Regions from separate parts of the Homo sapiens genome. Here regions 1, 2, 3, 4, 6 and 7 are each linked to region 5. The links are contacts of gene promoters, found by promoter capture Hi-C in blood cells and fetal thymus (Javierre and others, 2016). All regions are on one chromosome and are shown on one strand. The core of a region is centred on a gene start or on the middle of the fragment in contact, and the rest is flanking DNA. Distances in the headings are between cores, read along the strand shown. Region 1 overlaps GALNTL6 (polypeptide N-acetylgalactosaminyltransferase like 6). Region 2 has its middle 4.0 kb from the start of SPATA4. Region 3 overlaps WDR17 (WD repeat domain 17). Region 4 overlaps ASB5 (ankyrin repeat and SOCS box containing 5). Region 5 holds the start of FBXO8 (F-box protein 8). Region 6 overlaps GALNT7-DT (GALNT7 divergent transcript). Region 7 has its middle 53 kb from the start of WDR17.

Region 1 (3,196 bases), core at 312-2,811, 1.3 Mb before region 5:
AGCAGCCTGAGTAGCTCAGACCACAGGTGCATACCACCAAGCTCACCTAACCCTTTTCACTGTTTTAATTTTAAATTAAGAAATATTTCAATAGAAAGCTATAGAAAATATCATAGCAGATATTTATGTACTCATCACACTCATCTCTTATGAAAAGCAAAAAAGCAAGCAAGCAGTTCCCAGTAAGGCGTTACTGCCTCCTATAGCCAGATTCCTCTGGTGCCCATCTTGTACATTAAACTAGAAAAGGTCCACCATGCCCAGCGCAGGATGTTAAAGAGTTGTCCAGATGTGTTGAGATTCACCTCCCTCGCCCCACCTCACTGCCCCTCCCTGCCCTCTACCACGCATTACAATGCAGAGCATCATGATGCGAGGAAAACAGCCACAGAACAAGTCCACAATACAATCCAGAGATGTTCAGTCCATCAACAGTGCCTCTCCCCTAACCACTGATCCAATCTTTGAACCCTCTCCCCACAGCCTCATGGTATTCTAGGAGGACTGTGGGCCTTGTAGCCAGGCCAACCTGGATTTTAGTTTAAACCATGTGGCCTTGTGAAGTTGTGAAATCTTTCTAGGCCATAGTTCTTCCATCTTGGACAGGGTGGTTAGGAGAATAAATCTTGGGGCAGCATCTTGCACATGCAGCAGGTGCAGAGTAATATCCTCTCCCTCCTGCCTTCCTTCTCTCAAACACTCACAAATCCCTTTATGCTAATACCAAATTAGAAACCTCTCTCAGGTCCAAGGCAGCTGGGACTTTGGCTTCATTTATCTGTTCCCAGCATAGTCAGCAAATACTAGTTATTATTCACTCAAATGCGCCCTGCATGGCTGGGCACGGTGACTCGCGCCTATAATCCCAGCACTTTGGGAGGCTGAGGCGGGTGGCTCACTTGAGGTCAGGAGTTCGAGACCAGCCTGGCTAACATTTTGAAACCCCGTCTCTACTAAAAATACAAAAATCAGCCAGGCGTGGTGGCTGATTATATACATATATCCAGAGGGGTTTATAGAAGGCTCTGTGACTCCCAGATTTATTGATAGGAATCAAATATCAGTGAAAAGTTATTTGCCTCCTCCTTCCTCTGTCTGTTTCTATAAGCTCCATGGGGATGTTACTGGGGACCTGAGGAATGGTGTTGGACTGTTAACTCCAACAAGCAATTCTGACTTCAGCCTGGGAGCAAGAGAGAAGGCTTTAGAAGCTATCGGTAAGGCTGGCATCTAGAGTGGAAAAGAACTTTTTTAAAAAGAAAAAGGAGGAAACCATAAGGAAAAGCTTCATTTCTTGGGCTAAATTCCTCTCTACCATCTCTATTCAACCCAACTAAGAAACACACATGGCCAGCTGGTGAATATAAAGCAGGCCTTAATGTCTGAACTGGGCTTAGTATTTCTATCCAGTAATGCTCTAGAATGAAATCTTCTCTGGCCTGCAGATTTTATTTGACAGCGGAACATGGATATAAACAAAGGCAACGATATTGCATACACTTTAAAAATTGCTGGTTCACTCCCCGCACCCCCCACGTCCCCCAACTCCCCACCTCCCACCCCCAGGCTAAAATGCAAAAATCTATGGCCCGTAATTCAAGAAATGGTCACCAGAGGGCAGCACTAGACAAGCAGAAAACTACATAGGCAGAACAGAAAGACCAGTTAATACAGCTCTTTAAAAAGATTTCCTGTCTCTAGAGATCCTAAAAATGAAGCTACAGTAGGATTAAATAAGGTTGATAAGTGGTGGAAAATGCATCATGTTTGAAATATTGCCATATATTGACTTGGAGGTTAAAACATTACAAGCTGTTTCATTCACCAGTAATTAACTGTAAGCTTTATTCAATATATCACTCAGTGACTTACAAGAATTAGGAAGCACTCTTCTACATTTAGATTAAAATTCCTGCATGAGGAAGGCATATCGGAACATGACAATTATGGATTTTCTTTTTAATTCAAAAACATTCAAAAAACACAAAAGGAGACTTATTAGAGTTGAAATAATCCGTTTTTTTCCAAAAAAAAAAGTGGCAAAAATTAAAAAAAGGAAAAAACAAAATTGTTACATGGGAAATAAAAAAGAGTCCATTGAAGGACCTGTATAAGAAAATGCCTTCTGCTGCAGAACACTGGTGGTGACTAACGTGGTTTCTGTGAAGGAAGCAAATGTATGATTCATTTTGCCAGGGCAATCTGCATAGCTGTTTGATATCATGGTAGCATTATGCTTCCTTTAGGGATCAAGAAAGAAAAACAAAAATAGATCCTAATAAGACTATAAGGTCTGGAAAGAACATTCCCCAGCTCCCATTGAGTCCAAGGGAGAGGAGTGGCGGGGAGGAACCCCCTTGGTCTAGTTTGGCTGTTCCCACTCTGCAGGCCCAGCAGCAGGCTCTGATGTCATGCTGGGGAGCAAGTGTTGCAGCCCAGCTTTCGTCCTCCCGAGGAAGCAAACACTGGCTCCCTCTCCAGGGCCTAGGGGAAGGTTCACAAAGACAGAAGCAAGCAAATGTGTGCATCCAGGGGACAGATTTTTTTCCTTTCTTTTTTCTCTCTTTGGGAAAAAAGAGTCTCATTATCAAGACAGAGCGAACTGATGGGTGCAAACTGCAAGGAGAAACATGCTGTATCTCAGGTTTCTGCAAACCTCATAACAATGAAATAAAACATCACAATCCAGACAGAGAAAAATATTTTCTGCTGTCTCAAGTCAGGTAGCAAGAGCAAGAGATAAGTGTATTGGCAGTACCAAATCCAGTGACCTTATTCATATAATACAAACGGACCCAGGCAACATGACACATATCACATTAATATTAAAGCAAAGAAATAAGAGTTAACATTGTGATATGGTTTGGCTGTGTCCCCAAATCTCATCTTGAATTGTAGTTCGCATAATCCCCATGTGTCATGGGAGGGACCCAGTGGGAGGTAATTTAATCATGAGGGCAGTTACCTTCATGCTGTTTTCCTGATAGTGACTGAGTTCTCATAAGATCTGATGGTTCTATAAGGCGCTTTTCCCCCTTTTGTTTGGCACTGCTCCTTGCTGCCGCCATGTGACGATGGATGTGTTTGCTTCCTCTTCTGCCATGATTGTAAGTTTCCTGAGGCCTTCCCAGCCATGCTGAAATGTGAATGAATTAAACATCTCTCATTTATAATTTACTCAGTCTCAGGTATGTCT
Region 2 (3,047 bases), core at 484-2,983, 1.9 Mb after region 5:
TTTAGGCATTATCAACCAAAGAGACATTGTCAACCAAAGGTTTAGATGATAATGGCTAGAGAGGTAGGTTAGATCTATAGGTTAGGGTTTATTTGTTTTTGTTTTTGAGACAGAGTCATGCTGTTGCGCAGGCTGGAGTGCGGTGGCGTGCTCAGGGCTCACTGCAGCCTTGACCTCCTGGACTCAAGTGAACCTCCCACCCCAGCCTCTCATCTCAGCCTCCCAAGTAGCTGGGACTACAGGTGCAAACCACAATGATTGGTCAGTTTTTAAATTTTTTATAAAGACGGGTCTTGAACTTGTGGGCTTGAGGAATCAATCCTCCAGCCTTGGCCTTCCAAAGTGCAGCAATTACAGGCATGAGCCACCACGCCCAGCTAGATTGGGGCTTAATTGTAAACAGTTTTGCTAAAGAGTTGGAAATCTTCCTGTAATCAGTGTGCCAATTGTTAAGCAAATACATCCCTGTTAGAAACACTCCCTTCTCTGTTCTCAGTTCTGTGATGCCGGAGTTGGAACGCTGCGGCATTTTCTCCTTTGCTGGGTGGATGGTAAATTCTGCCAATATGGGGAGTGAGAGAGTGGCCAGGAGGTGGGGAGCAGGGATTTGCTATTTCTCTGCTTGCTGTTCAAGCCCCTGTGTAACCATGGCAACAAAGCTTCACCTGGCCGGGGCAATTGGTTCCAGTCTCCAGTATGGTTGGTTGGTTGGTTTGTTTGTTTAGCACTCCTGGTGCAAGTTTCATCATATTCTCTCCGAGGTTTTAGCAACCACCAAGAAGTGGCCCTCCTTGGAAGTCTGAGACCCAATTTTACTCTCGGACAGCTCATGTGAGCTCCTGAAGTATTAGCACCAGCTGTGTACGCCCCATCCTCAAGTCTAAGTCTTGAGGCTCTTAAGCCTCCAACTCTTACGTTCTTATAACTTCAACTTCTTCCCTGGGGGTGGTAATTGCTTCCTGAAGTGTCTAGCTCTGTGTTAATTTGATGGTCCCATTTTAGTTTTTCGGTTCTTCAACACCACCAGTTCCTTATAAAGCCGATGCAGGTTTGAACCACAGGATTTGGAACTGCACGGGCCCACTAATATGTGGATTTTCTTCCACCTCTGCCAACCCCAAGACAGCAGGACCAATCCCTCCTCTTCCTCCGTCTCCTCAGCCTACTCAGTGTGAAGACAAGGATGAAGACCTTTCTGACGATCCACTTCCACTTAATGAATAGTTAATATATTTTCGCTTCTTTATGATTTTCTTAATAACATTTTCTTTTCTCTAGCTTACTTTATTGTAAGAATACAGTACATAATATATATCACACAAAATATGTGTTAATTGATGTTTATGTTATTGGTAAGACTTCCAACAGTAGGCTATTAATAGTTATGTCTTTGGGGAGTCTACAGTTGGGTTTTCTACCATGCAGGACGTCGGTCCCCCTAATCTTAATGTTGTTCAAGGATCAGCTGTTAAAATTCTTGCTGTTGAATACCTGGAATTAGTTCTGTTTTCCTGATTGGATGCTGAATGACATATTGCTTGGTACCTGGAGTGAGGTTTTTCTCTACCACTAGCTCACCTGCATCTTTCTAAAGTATCTAAGGAACTTGCTTCTTCCTGTTCATGAGGTCGACTCAGCAGGATATCATCAATATAGTGGACTAGTGTGATGTTCTATGACATGTTAAGACACTCAAAAATCTCTGCCAATCTTGTGGCAAAGAGCAAGAAAATTGATCTGAACCTAAGGCAATAGCTTGAATGTGTGCTATAGATCCTGATAGATAAAAGCAAACTGCTTTTGGTGGTTTTCGCAGACTGTTATGGAGAGGAAAAAGTACATTCCAGATTAACAGCAGAATAACATTTGCTGGGGACTGTAGAAATTCATTCCAGTAAAGACACTTCAGGCCAGGTGAGGTGGCTCACACCTATAATTTAGCCCTTTGGGAGGCCGAGGCGGGTGGATCATTTGAGGTCAGGAGTTTGAGACCAGCCTGGCCAACATGGTGAAACCCCCTTCTCTACTAAAAATACAAAAATTATCCAAGTGTGGTGGCATGCACCTGTGGTCCCAGCTACTCGGAAGGCTGAGGCAGGAGAATTGCTTGAACCTGGAAGGTGGAGGTTGCAGTGAGCCAAGATCATGCCACTGCACTCCAGTCTGGGTGATAGAGTGAGACTCCATCTAAAAAATAAAAATAAAAAATAAAAAATAAAAAAAAAGACACTTCCAATGGAAAAGCAGCTGTAATTGGAGTTAATTAAGTCTACAGTAATCCACACTCATTCATTAGGATTCCTCTAACCTGCATAAGCCAAACAGACTTTACAGCTCACAGCATAGGAAGCAGCGTGAGCTCTGTTCATGCTAGTACTTCTTGCCCACAGGTGTCTCGGGATGACGTGAAGAGGCTGAGGTGGAAGCCTCACACACCATGGGTTTACATCACAGCTGAGGAATCCCAACCTTAGGGAAGCCCAGTCTTTTATAATGGGCTGCAAGGAAAACTGCCAAATCTTTGCCCTGGAGGGAAACATTGTTCTTACGATACTGGTCAGTAAACAAACCTGCAGTCTCCTCTGAAGGAAGATACTATATTTTTTAACACTGTTCACTATATGAACATCTTTAAAAAGATGTTCTGAAACAAAAGCTGCCAGGGCATCTGCTTGCAAGATGCACAGAAATGCAAACAACTCAAAATGGATGGGTATACCAAAAAGCATTACAAATCCATTTCCATTTCCTGATCTTTACTCCCCGTTTTGGTTGCAGCATTGAACTGCTTCTGTCTTCATCTGTATTTAAGCTTAACTTCTTGAGGAGTCTCATCATAGAGCAAAATAGTATTTCATAATTATCATCAGACTGTGGTTTTTCAGAAGTGGCTATACTGAGAGGCTCTGGCCCAGATTCTAAGGCACTCCTGATGGAGGAAATAATTTTAACACTCATACCAACTCTGAACAGTTTTTCTAAGTTGAAAGGCGTAGCAATAAGAATGCAGTACACTAAACATATGAATTGAAAATATGGTCGATATT
Region 3 (2,876 bases), core at 186-2,685, 1.8 Mb after region 5:
TGGGCTGTCACATTAGAAGGCAGAGTTCAGGTTGTTTTCATCTGATTTCAGTGACTAGACAGGTATAATTTCAGTGACTAGTCAAACATTTCAAATAGGCTAGATTTTGTAAGAAAAAAAAAGAACTTGATATTGGAGCCACAGCTGGCACCTGCCTTCCAGATGTCACATTATCAGCTACTTGAGGAAAATAATTTATATATATATATTGATAAAAGTCTTACTTTTTATTATGTTAAATGTACTTACAAAGTATTGTTCAGTAAGCTGTCTTATAAAATTCTGTAATTCTACATTCTAATTTAAAAAATGTACTGTAGAAATAGACAGTAATATAAATCTATAATTAAGATAATACAGGAGGTAATTTAACAATGTTATTTGCTATGATAAGGATGATTGATAATTGTCATGTTCGGATAAATTGTAGCAAAAGTGTAAGAAATAAATTTCCATGTGTCAGTGAAGATGTTATAACAGTCAATACTTGTTTTGTACATTCAAATGTTCTGAGATGGAGAACTCAAGATTGAGGTCCTTAAACAATTTTTCTTATGCTTAGGTTTATTGTTTTCTTCTTCCAGATTCTTCCCATTTTTTTTAGTTGTAAGCATGTACCAGTGTCCCAGGCAGACTCATTTACAATGATGTGTAGTAAGTTCAATTTCATATCACGCACACAGAAAACTTACTTTCAAATCGGAAAGTAGAAAATAATTTTTATTACACAAAGCACTCGTGTTTAACATGCTATTAAAAAAACCCTTCATTACAATACAAACAGCTCCACATGGAGTCTCAAAAAAATGAATAGTTGGTTAATAAGAAATAGCTAACATTTAATTAAGTTTGATTCTTTAAGATAAAACATTATGGATGACTTTTAATGAAAAGAGTTATGCAACATTTTATTTTTAAGGTAAACAGGTTTGAAGGGGTCATTTTGGAATTTATGATAGAAGGATCCTTAAGACCAGTTACTCTAACACCGTTATTCTGTTAATGAGGACACTAAACACATAAAAATTATGTTCTCAAAATTAATAAGGGAAAAGCTGGCTTATGTTCTACTTCTGAAGCTTTACTTGGGAGTACCATGAACTACTAAATAAATGAATTTATTCCTGAAAATATAATAGTGGATACGTTTCGTTAACATTTATATATCAATAGTAGCTTTTTGGGCATAATGTCTCACCTTCAAAATTAATTCATTAGCTCATGTTTAGGGGGAATTTTATGTTGGCTCAGAGCGTAATATTTGACTTAGGCAGACTAATATGTAGATTACCAACCTATCAGATCTGTGCCTGGGCCCTACCTTAGGTAATACAGCCCTTTACTTAGCAAATTAAAATCAGACTTATTTCAGGCCTCTGTCAATATATTGAATGCATATATTGAAGAAAGTTTCGAGTTTAGTTAGTTTATGTAGATCCTTTTTTCCCTTTTTTTCCACTTCTTTTTTCTTTTCTTTTTTTCTTCTGAGACAGGGTCTCCTGCTGGAGTGCAGTGGTGTGATCATGGCTCACTGCAGCCTTGAACTCCCAGGCTCAATCAATCCCCCCACAGCAGCCTTCTGAGCAGCTGGGACTACAGGCACGCACCACCACTCTTGGCTAATTTTTTTTTTTTTTACTTTTCGTAGAGAAGACAGCTCACTATGTTGCCCAGGCTGATCTGGAACTCCTGGGCTCAAGCGATCCACCCAACTTGGCCTGCCAAAGTCCTGGGATGCATGAGCCTCTGTGACTGGCCCTGTTTTTGTTTTTGTTTTTGTTTTTTAATATTCAAGCTTCTAAGCATCCATTTGATTTTCTTTGCTGGTTTTCCCAAACTGACTTGCCAAAATAATTTTTAACACCTTTTCCCAGAACATGAATATGCCAGCATTAAGTGACTTTCTGCCCAATGGGGAATCCTAAGTTTGATAGACAGATAAGCATGAAGGCTCATCCTGCTTCAAAAACTCACATACAAAACCCAACTCACAAACCAGGTTAATTAGAAGGGGAGCGAGGGTCCTGGGGATTACATAGCAATTTATGGCAGAGTTCCTCAAGTCTTTTTTTTTTTAATGAGCAGTGATTCTATTTATAAAAATAGGGGTATACTTTTTGCCACACCCTGTTGAAGAAATAATCTTGTATCTTTTTATGACAAATATTTACTTATTTCCTTCCATAGTGTTCTCGCAATGGAATATTTACTTCAAAAATTCTTAGTTTATAATTGAAAATATGTGATTTCTCCCTTTTCTTTTTTCTTTTCTCTTTTTTTTTTGAGACAGAGTCTCACTCTGTCGCCCAGGCTGGAGTGCAGTGACACGATCTAGGCTCACTGCAACCTCCAGCTCCCGGATTCAAGCAATTCTCCTGCCTCAGCCTCCTGAGTAGCTGGGATTACAGGCGCAGGCCATTATGCCCAGCTAACTTTTTTATTTTTAGTAGAGACGGGGTTTCACCATGTTGGTCAGGCTGGTCTCAAACTCCTGACCTCGGCCCACCTTGGCCTCTCAAAGTGTTGGAATTACAGGCGTGAGCCACCACACCCGGCCTTTCCCTTTTCTATTATTCTTTGGATACCTCTCTCAGAATGGTCACAATGAAAGTATATGAATGAGCTTGTTGAAGTAGATGTGGATTACTTCTTTGATCAAATCAAAAATTATTTCCATGTTGCAGCACAAAACGTTCTGTAATCCTCTAAGCATCTGGGTAAGTCTAGTTCCAGGATTCAAATCCATATAATTTTCATTTTCATGGCTAAAATGGAGGAAAGTATAAAAATATATGTAAATAGATAATAAAGGTAACTCCATTCATCTTTCTGTATCTTTGAATCGGTGTCTTGCTCTTTTGATGTTCAGTGTTTGG
Region 4 (3,115 bases), core at 20-2,519, 1.9 Mb after region 5:
AATGTGTTAAGTGGCACCCACTCTTTAAAAACTCCACAATTTGAGTTTTTAATCTTCCATTTTTTTATATCCTTGGACTGATGTGATGATCCCCGGAATATGATCCAGGGCCTGTTTGTTAATTAGATATATAGTTCATTTTCTTAAGTCCAAGTATCACTAGCTATTGACAATTTCTGAAATGGAAGAAGGCTGGAGTAATATGCATATAACCGCCTTGATAAGAGATCATCAGGGGCTACTCCTGAGAAGGAGGCAGTCTTAACATAGCCTTAGAAGGTGTGTAATGTTCTAAATATCTCAGGGTGAGAGGGCAGTATTGACCTTTCATCCTATCACTTTTCTGTAACAAGTCCATGTACTATGGAGAAGAGAAGTGACTTGTGAGTCCTTTGCCAGGGGTAAGTGGGGGAGAGGGGGGCAATTTATCTTTATGAAGTGTTCATTCTAATGACCAGTGGACATTCAACATAGTGGATTTCCTGAATGAGCATCATCCTGGTTTCAGAAAACATATTAGTTGCTCTTTGCTAAGCCATATTCATATTTTATGTCAATATCAGTAACAAGTTAGCCAATTACAATAGCCAAAATTAAAAAGTTAACCCATTAGTTGAAGAACATAGACCTTTTTAAATATAATATGAATAACTTTACTAGGAGCTTTATTTCTTTCCAATCCAAAAGAAAACATAAGATAGTGACTTTATTATTTTTTCCTGAATAAACAGGAGGGTATATTGAAATAACAAAAAATAGATATTATAAATATGCTATAATCCAAAGACAGCATAAATGATAAAACAATAGTACTAATACACTTAAAATGAAAATTGATATTTTACTGCTTCCCTGGGTGATCTCACACTCACTTTTATCCTATCTTTAGCATATTTTTATATGAACTATTCCTTAAGCAAAAGAAATAGAAATTTTGATTTTCAAGGTATTTAGAATTACTTTACTGTTTTATCGATACTGTAAGAAATTCTTCAGTAACGTTGGCAGCTGGAGTTGTGGGATAAGGTGCAATCTTGGTTTTCCTATGTAGCTTCGGATACAGAGTCGGCAAAGTTGGTAAAGAGAGCTTGGGGTAGCTACAAGAAGACATGAATCTATTTGTTAATTAAAATAGAAATGAATTTTTTATGTTGTAAGGTACATAACATAAAACCATAAAAACTACAATGCTTTGTAGTAAACCTAGGATAGCATGACCACTATACTAGGGAAATTTATGTAAGCAGTTATATTGCTTTTATTTATAAGATCTTATTATAATTGAGATATATTCCATATACATTCCTTAAAATATTATAATCCTCAGGCTTAGGAAATAATTGTTGAATTTAAAGCCTCAGAAACAAAGTCTGCTTTTTGAAGGAGATATAAATCAAAAGTCCTGAGAAGTATTATGCACTAAAAGGGGAAATTTTAAAATTAAGTTTAATATTTACCCTAAAAGAAATATTATAGTCCCTGGACTAGGATTAAGAAATCCTATTTTAGAACAAAAGTCTCAAATGTAAAAATATTTACTAATTTTATTTCTATAATATGTTATAGAAGGTTCATGTCCTTATAAAATGGGGCATGCTCCAAATATAAATCAGCAGATATTATACCAGAAGTGCATATAATGCATTACTGAAACTAATTGAATATATTTAACCAAAAATATATGAGAGTTTAGGTAAGATGAAAGAGAAAATTAAAATTATCATTTTTTTTCTTTTTTTTAGATGGAGTCTCACTCTGTTGCCAGGTTGGAGTGCAGTGGCGTAATCCTGGCTCACTGCAACCTCCGCCTCCCGGGTTCAAGTGATTCTCCTTCCGCAGCCTCCTGAGTAGCTGAGATTACAGGCACGCACCACCATGCCCAGCTAATTTTTGTGTTTTTAGTAGAGACAGGGTTTCACCATGTTGGCCAGGATGGCCTTGATCTCTTGACCTTGTGATCCACCCGCCTTGGCCTCCCAAAGTGCTGGGATTACAGGTGTGAGCCACCACACTCGGCTGATATCTTCTTTATAGATAAAACCTAAGTTAAAAATCATCTACTTTCACAAATAATATTCCACATTTTATGCCATTGTTACTTTCCATGCCAACAAAAACTCTCTCACTTTCATCTATTTTAGGCAAATATATTTTGTTTTTGTAAGTTTCCACATGTATTTTTCTTACCTTCATGTTGAAGCAATATCCTTTCCACCATACTGCTAGACGTAGCTACATCTATAGGTCGCAGAAGCTCTGTATTTTTGGCATTGATATCTGCTCCAAATTCTAGCAGTAAGTTTACAATTTCTGTGCTGGATTGTTGAGCAGCAGCATGTAATGGAGTATCCCAATATTTGCCTTTCTGTACGTCAGCACCTACATGTAATACGGAGTGAAGATAAATATAAATAAAAGTTGTTAAATAAGCCAGCTGCCTCAGTGGGGATAGAAAAGGAAAGGCAATAGAGGAAGGTTATTAAGGGGACTTCAACTCTATTTGTTATGAGTTATTTCTTTATATACATATACAGTATCTACATACACATATATGCCTCATATGTACATATACATATATATAAACTGGGCACATCTGAATGGCAGAGGGTACATACATTTGTTATGTGACTCTCTGATACTTTTCTGTATGCTTGAACTATCATAATAAAATTCTTTTTAACTTTTAAATGATTCCAAAAGTAACCATACTAACTACTATTATAAAGAGTGCACAATTAAGTTCACTCATTTTTATTTTCATCATGGTTGATAGCTTTTAGAATTATTCAGGTGCTTATTTCTATTATTCTTTTCATTTATTTAAGGCAATGAAGCTCTTTGGTTTTCTTGGGAAACTCATGAATATGTGAGCTATTTAGGTAAAATGTATATAGATTTTCCTGCCATTTCTCACTTATGTAGTTTAAGTCAGTAAGTATATAAAGATATTGAGCCTTTTAAATCAAAAGGCACATTGATGATATCTGCATGAAAGGAAAGCTTTTAAAAATGCTTATGTTAAAATACAGCCTACATGCTACATTACCTATTGCACACTTACTTTATCCCAGTGCAAAGCCTGGCACATGCTGGTCATTCAATGCATTTGCAATAA
Region 5 (2,983 bases), core at 480-2,979:
TATTAATGATTTTGATGCATTATCATGGGTCAGTCAATGGAATAGTGCCAGTTTCCAAATCTGAATCAAAATGAGGAAAAAATTAGTTGTACATTAGCAGTTGGTTAAATAATAAACCATAAAGTTACAAATCTGAATGACTAATTTCAACACACTGTGATTAAAGATTTGGTAATTCAATGTTTTTATATTGTAAAATGAGGAAGATATCTTTTAACCTAGCAACAGTAAACACACAAAACATTCCCCATTAAAGTGACCATATGTAATAAATTATGATCAATGTTTTGGCTTATCTAGAAGTTACTATAATATTTTGTGGATGGAAGTAATTGATCCAAGGGCCCCAAGTAATATTAGTTAATTTGCTGTAACTTATTATTAAATGAAGTTACGCTGCACCCTAATTCCTGATGTACAGAAACTGATAATATTTGTTGTTTTAAGCTGGGGTAAATTTGGGGGTAATTTGTTACCCAGCAATAGACAACTAATGAAGTACCTCATCAGACATATTGTCAGGTTAATTGGCTAAAGATGAATTTCTGACCCAATATGAAAAAAATAATAAAACTTATGCATTCTTTATTCTGAAACCTACTCTGTTTCACATATCATTTTCGTGAAGGGTAGAGTTGAGAAGTGTGTAGAGCTCCTACCTCAGAAATACATTACTTCAAACATTAAAAGAAGGAAGAGGAAAGCTGAAATAGAAAACATAAATTGTCTTCACTTTACCGTAATAAAAATCATGATATATTCATTTGTGGATATACACCTAGGAGCCTTGAAAATGAATATTTTACTTGTAAAACAAGTAGAATCAATTATTTTATTAGTAAATTCATACAGAACCTAAAAATAAAACTAAAAAAATTAAATGACTGAGGATTGGGATCCATTTATGTGATTTTGCCAAATAAATATTGAGAACCTTCTACGTAAGAGATTAGAACCCAGTCGCTGAGAAACAAATAAAAGACAAGTTTGACAAGTTTTATAACCCAAGTTTGACTACTGTAGCAGCTAGCAATCCATCGTGATCTTAACTATACTTGTGTTTGCATTCATATTACTGGAAAGTGGTAAAGAACCAAAAACTGTCTAGGAACCAAAATAACACTCGACCCGAAAACCAACACTTGGACCTGAAGAAAGTAACCCTTGTCATTTCTCAGGTTTATTTCACAATGACGCTGGGTTACTACTTGGAGTCCTAAACCGAACTACACCCCAATGGCCTAGAAACAGAAGGAACACACCCAGTTCCGCCTCCTGACAGTGATTCCTCACTTTAATGAGCCACCACTACTGTCACTCAAGATGCTTCGCACTGTCATTGGTCGCAAACTCTTGCTGGTCGGCCAGTTTCGGCCAACTGGCAAGCACTGGTTGTCTTTATTTTCGAGAAAAGTGAAGGTGAACAGGGAAAAGAGACAAGAGATCTAAAATATCTAGGTTGACTCCTGTACCTGAGCGACCTGCGATCTCCACCGCCGCCGCGACGAATTGGCCTCTGGGCGGGGACTTTTAGCCAAAAGGAAAATGGCTCAGCCGGGAACTGGTGCCCAGGCCATGGAGAAGCTGATTCAAACTTTACTTGTCCACACCGGTAGAGGTGACCGCGATGAGAATACCAGAAACAGCACTACGACCCTCAGAACTCAGGGTACCTCCAGCTGCAGGGGCCAGAACTGCCGACTATCCCAATTTTGACGTTTCCTATTGTTGCCGGAAGTGACGTTAGGCTCCGACTCTTAACGGAGACGCATTTTTATTTCTGTTGTTTACGATTCGCTATAGATTCCTTGTTTCTCACTTCGTAGCACGAGCCACTCTGACCATCAAGATCAGAAAAACTTCTCAGCTGCAAGTTAGAAGTGGACTGGCCATTGAGGAGGCTCTCAGCGGAGTCGCTCTTCACAGGAGTCTTGAACGCGGTGTGGAATCGGCAGCGAGGAATCCTGGAGCACAGAGAAGCTCCCAGCTTTGAAGGTCTTGCGGTGGTGCGTGGCGGGCAGGAACCCACAATTCCAAATACAAACGGTCGGCGCGAGAAGCGCTTCTGGGCGCAGGCGCCTGGCTGTAGCGACTGGTTGCGGGAGGCTGGACTCTGGTGACTGTGTATGGTTGCATATGCTCCGTTTTCCTCTCCCTGTCGTGCTGGGCCTTTGAAACCGGCTTCTTTGCTGGTGGCTGCTTGGTGAGCCCCGAGGAGACGGCAAGGCTGCGCCTGGTATTGGGCGGAGGTCGCCTCTCTCCGCCGTCCTTACAGAGACCCCGGGCGGAGACGAATGACCAGATCCGCCTTTTCATTCTTTTAAATCAAATGGCGGGAGGGGAGCCTTGCTTATATACCCAACTAGTATATGCTTTTAGTCACAACGAAGTGGGAAGTATCGTGGTAGCTCATCCTATCAGAATTAGGTTGTGACTTAGGGTTGGAAAGTTATAGGCTTACTGATTCCTATTGGATCCTCTGGGGTGAGGATACAAACGGCTCCTGACTATAAGGAAGACAGGACAGCAGTTCGTGTTTTCCTTGTTGGCATTTCCCCAGCTTTTCAAATATTTCTCCACCTTTATTGAAGGCTACAGATTTTTCCCTCACTGTAACAAGTTAATCTTGAAGTTGTTATTCTCTTTTACTCTGGAATTATGGCCATGCTAGACTGTTTTTTTCCCGAATTATCTGCAGACCTTTTAATTTTATGTGTGAACACAGCAGTCCCGTTGAACTCTTTACTTGTCCCTTACTCCTCCCCACTCCCGCCCAGCTTTCTCGATGCTTTGCCTTTCTCAGACCTTTCTCCTATCTCTTAGAGAAGTATTTCCCTAATATCTTTTGCAGTTTCATAAACTGTTTTTCTCATCTTTACTTTTTTGTTTTTGATACGTGTTTTTAGATAATATCGAGCATTATGTGCTATGTCACAAACTCTTAGCCATTGACTGTTATTAGAGTCAGTGTAGTTGCTTCATT
Region 6 (3,252 bases), core at 319-2,818, 1.1 Mb before region 5:
GAATGAAGGGAAAGGACTCGTTTGGAGCTTCTGTGAGTTATTGAGAGAGGTTGTGCTATTATTAAAATCACTTGTGCTCACATTCTGAGTGTTCAATAAATGCAAGTTTATGGCAACTCTAAATGGCAAAGTTCCTCTTTTGATGTTCTGATCCAAAAGTATGAGAATGTATATTTAAAATGATGTAGAGTTTTTTTTTAATTGTCTACTTGCCCTAGGCAGGTGTGAATTCTTATTCATAGCACCTTCTCTGTGCAATTGACATTTTTAAAACCTATCAAGTAAATCTTCACTTTAAAATTTACATATGTAATTCTATGAATTCAACAGTCACTTGAGACTATTTGAAGAAAAGAGAAATGTAATGAAAAATTCTGATTTCTAATGCTGAGATTTAAAAATTAAAGAAGCAAAATAAGTCTCAAGCCTCAAAACCAACAGATTAGAACTGCTATTTTCCCTAACCCTTGATTGATTTACTTTGGTTATTAAGCATTAAATGACTTATGAAATCAGACATCACTTATTTCTTTGCAATCATTTATCTAATTGACCTATTTCTAGGCAAGAGACATAATTCTAGTCACTTGGTAGGCTTTATATGGGCAATTGGTGGCTGAAATTTTATTTCTGGCTCAATTAAGGAATTTAAATACACTATTTCCTCTTGATAACGTATCTAATTTAGGATCTTCTCAATCATTAGGTTATGTCATAGGATTTTATTTAGATTGCATTAACTATTAACCTTCTGTTTTCCCAAACTTGGTTAAAAATAATTCTGATTTGTTGTACAATTCTACCTATATTTCACTTTGCCTTATCTCTGTGCTCCCAAATTGCTGCTTCCCAAATTTTCCTTCTTTTATTATACATGTACCATAAAAAGCTTCAGAGGTAGCTATGTTAATCCTTCCTTCCTCCCTTCCTTCCTTCCTTCCTTTCCTTCCTTCCATCTTTTTTTTTTTAAACAGAAAAATTCACCACAGTGAATCATGGCAGTAATCTTCCTTGATAAGTTCATAATGTGAGCCATTGTAGCATCAAATTAAAGATACCTAGAAAAGCAGTGTTTTTAGGCAATTCTAATCAAAGAGAGTATTTGAAAATACTAATAAAGTATGACCTTCAATTTTTTGTTAAAAGTATTAGTGAGAAGAATGGTTAAGAAAAAGAAACACCTTCTGTAACTATTCATTATGCCATCAGATTCTCCAAGCTCTAAGTGCTCTAAGGGCAGGATTCTGTATCCTCACAGTCTGATACAACTAGTCACTCAATACTTACTGAATACATTTATCAATAAAATCTTATGTGAATGGTAACAGTTATGACTCATTTGCATATTTTGAATAAAAGCGGAAACCTTTCCATGTTGATATATGAAAAATTGTGTATAGCATTTAAGAAGCAAGCTATACAAATGCTTTTAATACTATGAATGAAGTCTGTTTTTTGAAAAAAGCAATGGACATTCTTAGAAAGTTTTCTGGGATCTAGTCTATTGGTTGATTTTCTTTAACCTGTGCTGACAGAAAACTGCCTAATCACACTGAAAATGTCTCCTTCTGATTAAAAGTTTCATTTTTGGAATGCAATTTGCTACCTGTTCCTTTTCTGATTACCAAAAGACTAATTCTCCAAACAAGAAATGGTTCATGACTCTTATAACTTTATTAGACAAATAAATGTTCTATTTAGAACATTTCAGAAGAAAACAGAAATGTGTTGGATTTCAAGCATTTTATTTAAAATTGTGTCAATAAAAATGCAGGAAATGGGCTGGGTGCAGTGGCTCACACCTGTAATCCCAGCACTTTGGGAGGCCAAGGCAGGTGGATCACCTGAGGTCAGGAGTTCGAGTCCAGGCTAGCCAACATGGCGAAACCCCGTCTCTACTAAAAATAACAAAAATTAGCTGGGCATGGTGGTGGGCGCCTGTAATCCCAGCGACTCAGGAGGCTGAGGCAGGAGAATCGCTTGAACCCAGGAGGCAGAGGTTGCAGTGAGCCAACATCGCACCATAGCACTCCAGCCTGGGCAACAAGAGCGGAACTCTGTCTCAAAAAAAAAAAAAAAAAAAAAAAAAAAAAAAGCAGGAAATGCATTATTCTCATTTTTGCAGTATGATGGAATGGAATAAATTAAACAGGTTTACAAAGTTGCCCACATTACTTTAACATCTTCTAACATTTTTATAGCACATCCCACCGTAATATATTTATTGTTATAGTTCCCACTTGTTTGCAAGCTTCTCAGAGGCAAGGAACAATGTCCTCAATTTGTATCACTGGTACAACGCCTAGCACATAATATGCACTTATATTTTTGAGCAAAAATTAATTTGGTACCTGTACTATAAAACCGAAATTAGTTCTAAGTCTTTAAAAAATAACATTAAAAACCAAAAATTCTCTTATTGTTGGATATAACCCTGAGATCAACTTGGTTGTTTATTAAAACATTAAGCAGTGTGCATAATACCTGTTTGTAGACAGGCCTAGTTGCTTATTTTGTTGTGTCCTACTTTCAGCGAGATTACTGTAAACGAGGCCCACAACTTCATTTATAATCACCACAACTCTAAGTGTGTAACAGGCAAGCACTCAATAAATATTAACTTGTACGTTGAATGTTCAACAGTGCTTAGCACAATGTGGTACATGCCCTTGAATATACCAGATATTCAGTAAACATACATTAAATAAATCGAAGAATAGCATCCAGTAAGAGAGCACTGGCTTCTCTTTCCCCAGTCTACTTTTAGGAAAACAGATATATGTGCATTCTTAACAGTATCAGATAGGATGAGGCAAGGGACTCTAAACTGAACTCTGTATATTCTGGTGTGTTAAGCTAATCCTGGTGCTCTCTGTAGCTCTCCACACATAGTCACCTGATAGTCTGTTTTTCTCCCCTGCCCACTGTCTTTAGGATTGCCTCGAAAACCCTGGGTTTAGCTACTGCCTACCCTGGAATACTCACTCCAGCCATCCGGATTTCTTCCTATCACTGTAACTCATCTCAGGCATTCTGCACATTCTCCTTTCCACTCTATCCCCTTGCTTGGGTAATATCTGTGCATCTGCCAGTGTCCTCTTGAATGGCTCTTGTTCCAGGAAGCCTTTCTGGATCCACTAGAGTAGATTAGATATCACTAGGTGCCTCCAGCATCCAGTGCTGAATCATAAATATCTCTTATCATAGCATTCATCATATAATTTAATGTCTGCCTTCCCTATGGACCTATAA
Region 7 (3,250 bases), core at 483-2,982, 1.7 Mb after region 5:
AGAGAGATCCAGGGAAAGACTAAAGATTAGGTTTGTAAAGTTCAGCAGAAGTGACAGTTCCTGCTATTGAGGCAAGTCTTTGAAGACAGGTGCTGGAAGAATTATTAATAAGGATACTACAGTACACCACAGTGATTATATGGATTGCAAAGAAAGAAAAAAATGTCAAAGTCCAATTTAAATAAGATAATGCATTAGAAAGGCTGAAAATTTTAAACAGTTATAAAAATGTTAGCTGCAACTATGAAAATTGCTGAAGGGAATAAATGAAAACAGTCGATGTATACCATAAATATGAAGCATAAATTTTCATAATTTATATACGAGTAAGGACCAAGAGGAAACCATGGATCCTTGAGCAGGGTAACCAATGATAAAAAAGATGGGGAGATCAGGCTGATTTTCCAGGGAGTGGAGGTTCCATCTACAAGACTCAGATCTTTTTTGTGTTTGCTTTTTGTTTTGGTTTGGATTCGTTTTTGCTCATTTGTTTCAGTTTTACAAAGACTGAAGTGGTTGTTTCACAAAATATATATTGTACAGATAGTACCCTCAGGCCTTATTTTCCCAGCCAGAAACACCAACACAACAGCTTCCAAATGCAGTCTCCTTTACAATTCATTAATTTTTGTTCTATTCCTAGGATGGCCTCACTGGGCTTTGGTTTCCCTTGAGGAAAGTGATTTTCTTTTGTGGTTTGCAGTTGAGTCACAAGAGAATTTTGAAGGGTTTTGAGCCTCCCCGTTGCAAAGCTGTAGGTAAGTGTCTTGTGACAGCTATAGCAATAAAGCAGAGTGGTTTTCCTTAACATTTAAATGCAATAATTAGCATATGTTGTTTTAAATTGTGTGTGTGTGTGTGTGTGTGTGTGTGTGGGTGTGTGTGTGTTTTATATTTACAGAACCATGTTCTCGAAGCAGTCCAGTCTCTAAAGTTTCACCAGGTGGGGCAGAGTGCCAGGCCTATGACTAGGGCCAGAGGTCTCTCCTCTTGTCTCTCTGATGAATACTGGCAGTTCCCCAGGCTTACCAGTTATTCTGGAGATAATGCTTTTGAAGGCCTCAAAGGTGCTGAATATCATCTTAATTTGAACCCCACAGAAAGAGTTTGGACACCTCCATTCTTCACTGCACAAAGCTCTCTTGACCAGGCACCTGGCTGATCTCTGGCATCTCGGTGGGCTACACGGAGCTCATGGTCTTCATTCTCCAGGTAAAACCAGGGAGCACAGCTTGAACTCCTGACATTCTTTCTTGATTTTATCACTGCCTCTCCTGCCTCTGCTGCCCATCTTTTTATGTCTGATATGCACTGCTTTCAGCTTTATGCTGTTATGTTTCTGGCCAACTGGAAACATACATATCTGCAGATCAATGGTGAGGAACCTCCCAGTGCCCCACTGCAGGGTCTGGCTGTTATCAGAAGAGGCTGGGGGTCTCATCCTCAAGCATATTTTGCTGGTTGTGCACCTTTCCGAACTGCCCAGAGTGAAGGGATTTTCATCTGGAGGAGAGACCCTGGAGGAAATCAGTTTCAACTTGGGCTCCACCAATGCTGCCAGCATTGTGGGTAGAGAGGGAGGCCACAGGGCCATACTGGAGGGCTATGCTGTAAGGAGGTGGTCTTCACCTCTAGGCAGATTAGGTGACCAGCAGGCACTTTCACAGAGCCACTGGCCTTCCACTCTGACTCCTGGTTCTGCCCGGACCACTGAATTCTTGTGGCACTCTGACTACATTTTTGAAAAAATTTAATGAGTTCATGTGAATATTCAGTGATTCATGGATTGGGTAGCAGCAGATCACAAGTGGTTCAGTGCCCCACAGAAGGGGTCATAAGGGGACTTTTTAAATAAATTCAACTTTTATTTTAGATTCAGGAGTACATGTGCAGGCGTGTTACACCGGTATATTGTGTGATGCTGAGGTCTGGGCTATGAATGATCCTGTTGTCCAGGTAGTGAGCACAGTACCCAATAGATGGCTTTCAGCCCTTTTGCCTCTAATATATGTCTACTATATATATAAACATTATACATATAAATATATAATATATATATTTTTTTTCAGCCCTTTCCCGTCTAGTACCTGTCTACTATACCCATCTTTATGTCCATGTGTACCCAATGCTTAGCTCTCACTTACAAGTGACAACATGTGATACTTGGTCTTCTGTTCCTGCATTAATTTGCCTAGTATAATGGCCTCCAGCTGTATCCATGTTGCTGTAAAGGACATGATTTCATTTTTTGCGGCTGCATAGTATTCTAGTGTATATGTAGCACATTTTATTTAACCTATTCACCACTGATGAGCATCTAGGCTGCTTCCATGTCTTTGCTATTCTTAGAGTGAGAATTAAAGGTGGGAATGGCAGGCTCATTGAAACTCTGCCGCTTTGAGGTGGCAGAGATCTCATGCTATACCTTGCAAGTGAGGAAGGAGTACAGCTGTTGGTGGGATGAGCTGAAGCCGAGGCTTGAGGATAATGGGGTAGTGCTCCATCTCAGATCTCTCGTAGCCCAGGAGCAGATGGATGGTCATTGCTTTGGCATAATTCTGACCCATTAACAAGCTCTGAATCTCTTCGCACGTATAAGCCATGGGCATTATCTCAGTCTGTCAGGGATTCTTAAAAGCAGGAAGTGGTCAATGTAAGAGTTTAGATTTCAGTTCCTCCTCGTGGTCCATGTTCATCCACGGATGCTTCATGATTTCCTCTAAAGTGCCTCTCCTGCGAGAGTTGAGGACAAGAAATTTCTTGAGCAGGTTTTCACACTCCATGGGCATATAGCAAGAAATACCAGATATTCTTCTCAATATCTACTCTGGCAACTCCTTGAAGTTCTGTCTATCACAAGGCAGCAGGGGCACACTGAGCAGCCGATAGAGGATAACTGCCAGTCTTTACTCATTCACTAGCAGCTGTTGTACTTTGGGCCCTGGAAGAGCTGTGGGGCAATATAAAGAGGGCTGCCACAGAGGGCAGCTAGCTTGTTGCCAAAGGTGAATTTGTTGTGAAGCTAGCCTACAATGTCAGCTGTGCAGATGTTCTGCCCACAGGTCTCTAAGGACCATACACCTCTGGTGGTAACACTGCACAATAGGCACTTCATGGCAAAATTCGCCTTGTGCTTTTTTCTCTTTCATGCTGCCATCAGCCACCAGGTAATGGAACACCCCCTCCTCCACCAACATACTCCACAATACTGTAGAGGATTTTCTTAATGTCAATCACTTCAGATAATTTC

The links. Contacts are between HindIII fragments. The CHiCAGO score rates a contact against its expected background, and 5 or more counts as called.
Region 1: a contact is called between a fragment that was not itself captured here and the fragment with the promoter of FBXO8 in region 5, in 9 of 17 cell types (activated CD4 T cells, naive B cells, fetal thymus and 6 more). The highest score is 10.2, in activated CD4 T cells.
Region 2: a contact is called between a fragment that was not itself captured here and the fragment with the promoter of FBXO8 in region 5, in 10 of 17 cell types (total CD4 T cells, naive CD8 T cells, non-activated CD4 T cells and 7 more). The highest score is 24.4, in total CD4 T cells.
Region 3: a fragment that was not itself captured here is called in contact with the fragment with the promoter of FBXO8 in region 5 in 2 of 17 cell types (total B cells and naive B cells); the score reaches 6.0 in total B cells.
Region 4: a fragment that was not itself captured here is called in contact with the fragment with the promoter of FBXO8 in region 5 in 2 of 17 cell types (naive CD8 T cells and total CD4 T cells); the score reaches 10.6 in naive CD8 T cells.
Region 6: a contact is called between a fragment that was not itself captured here and the fragment with the promoter of FBXO8 in region 5, in 1 of 17 cell types (non-activated CD4 T cells). The highest score is 5.2, in non-activated CD4 T cells.
Region 7: a fragment that was not itself captured here is called in contact with the fragment with the promoter of FBXO8 in region 5 in 2 of 17 cell types (total B cells and naive B cells); the score reaches 8.1 in total B cells.

Annotation. Positions count from the first base shown.
Region 1 is chr4:173,012,021-173,015,216 of GRCh38, forward strand. All of the region lies in intron 11 of GALNTL6 (polypeptide N-acetylgalactosaminyltransferase like 6), which reads left to right. Among named protein-coding and RNA genes, the nearest start is that of GALNT7, 160 kb to the right of the region's middle. The HindIII fragment of the contact is 557 bases long and covers 1,284-1,840 here.
Region 2 is chr4:176,198,066-176,201,112 of GRCh38, forward strand. No RefSeq gene overlaps it. Among named protein-coding and RNA genes, the nearest start is that of SPATA4, 4.0 kb to the left of the region's middle. The HindIII fragment of the contact is 2,153 bases long and covers 658-2,810 here.
Region 3 is chr4:176,069,058-176,071,933 of GRCh38, forward strand. The region is part of intron 1 of WDR17 (WD repeat domain 17); the gene reads left to right. Among named protein-coding and RNA genes, the nearest start is that of WDR17, 4.7 kb to the left of the region's middle. The HindIII fragment of the contact is 716 bases long and covers 1,078-1,793 here.
Region 4 is chr4:176,214,631-176,217,745 of GRCh38, forward strand. It overlaps ASB5 (ankyrin repeat and SOCS box containing 5), which reads right to left. Exons shown (of 7, transcript NM_080874.4): 6 at 2,188-2,379; 7 at 1-1,097. The coding sequence ends at 970. Among named protein-coding and RNA genes, the nearest start is that of SPATA4, 21 kb to the left of the region's middle. The HindIII fragment of the contact is 3,458 bases long and covers 1-2,998 here.
Region 5 is chr4:174,281,938-174,284,920 of GRCh38, forward strand. It overlaps FBXO8 (F-box protein 8), which reads right to left and starts at 1,730. Exons shown (of 6, transcript NM_012180.3): 1 at 1,473-1,730. It overlaps CEP44 (centrosomal protein 44), which reads left to right and starts at 1,974. Exons shown (of 12, transcript NM_001040157.3): 1 at 1,974-2,006. RefSeq lists an enhancer at 1,925-2,174 and a silencer at 1,939-2,206. The HindIII fragment of the contact is 4,999 bases long and covers 1-2,983 here.
Region 6 is chr4:173,148,608-173,151,859 of GRCh38, forward strand. The region is part of intron 6 of GALNT7-DT (GALNT7 divergent transcript); the gene reads right to left. Among named protein-coding and RNA genes, the nearest start is that of GALNT7, 19 kb to the right of the region's middle. The HindIII fragment of the contact is 1,362 bases long and covers 888-2,249 here.
Region 7 is chr4:176,011,001-176,014,250 of GRCh38, forward strand. It overlaps the pseudogene MARK2P4. Among named protein-coding and RNA genes, the nearest start is that of WDR17, 53 kb to the right of the region's middle. The HindIII fragment of the contact is 3,642 bases long and covers 1-3,250 here.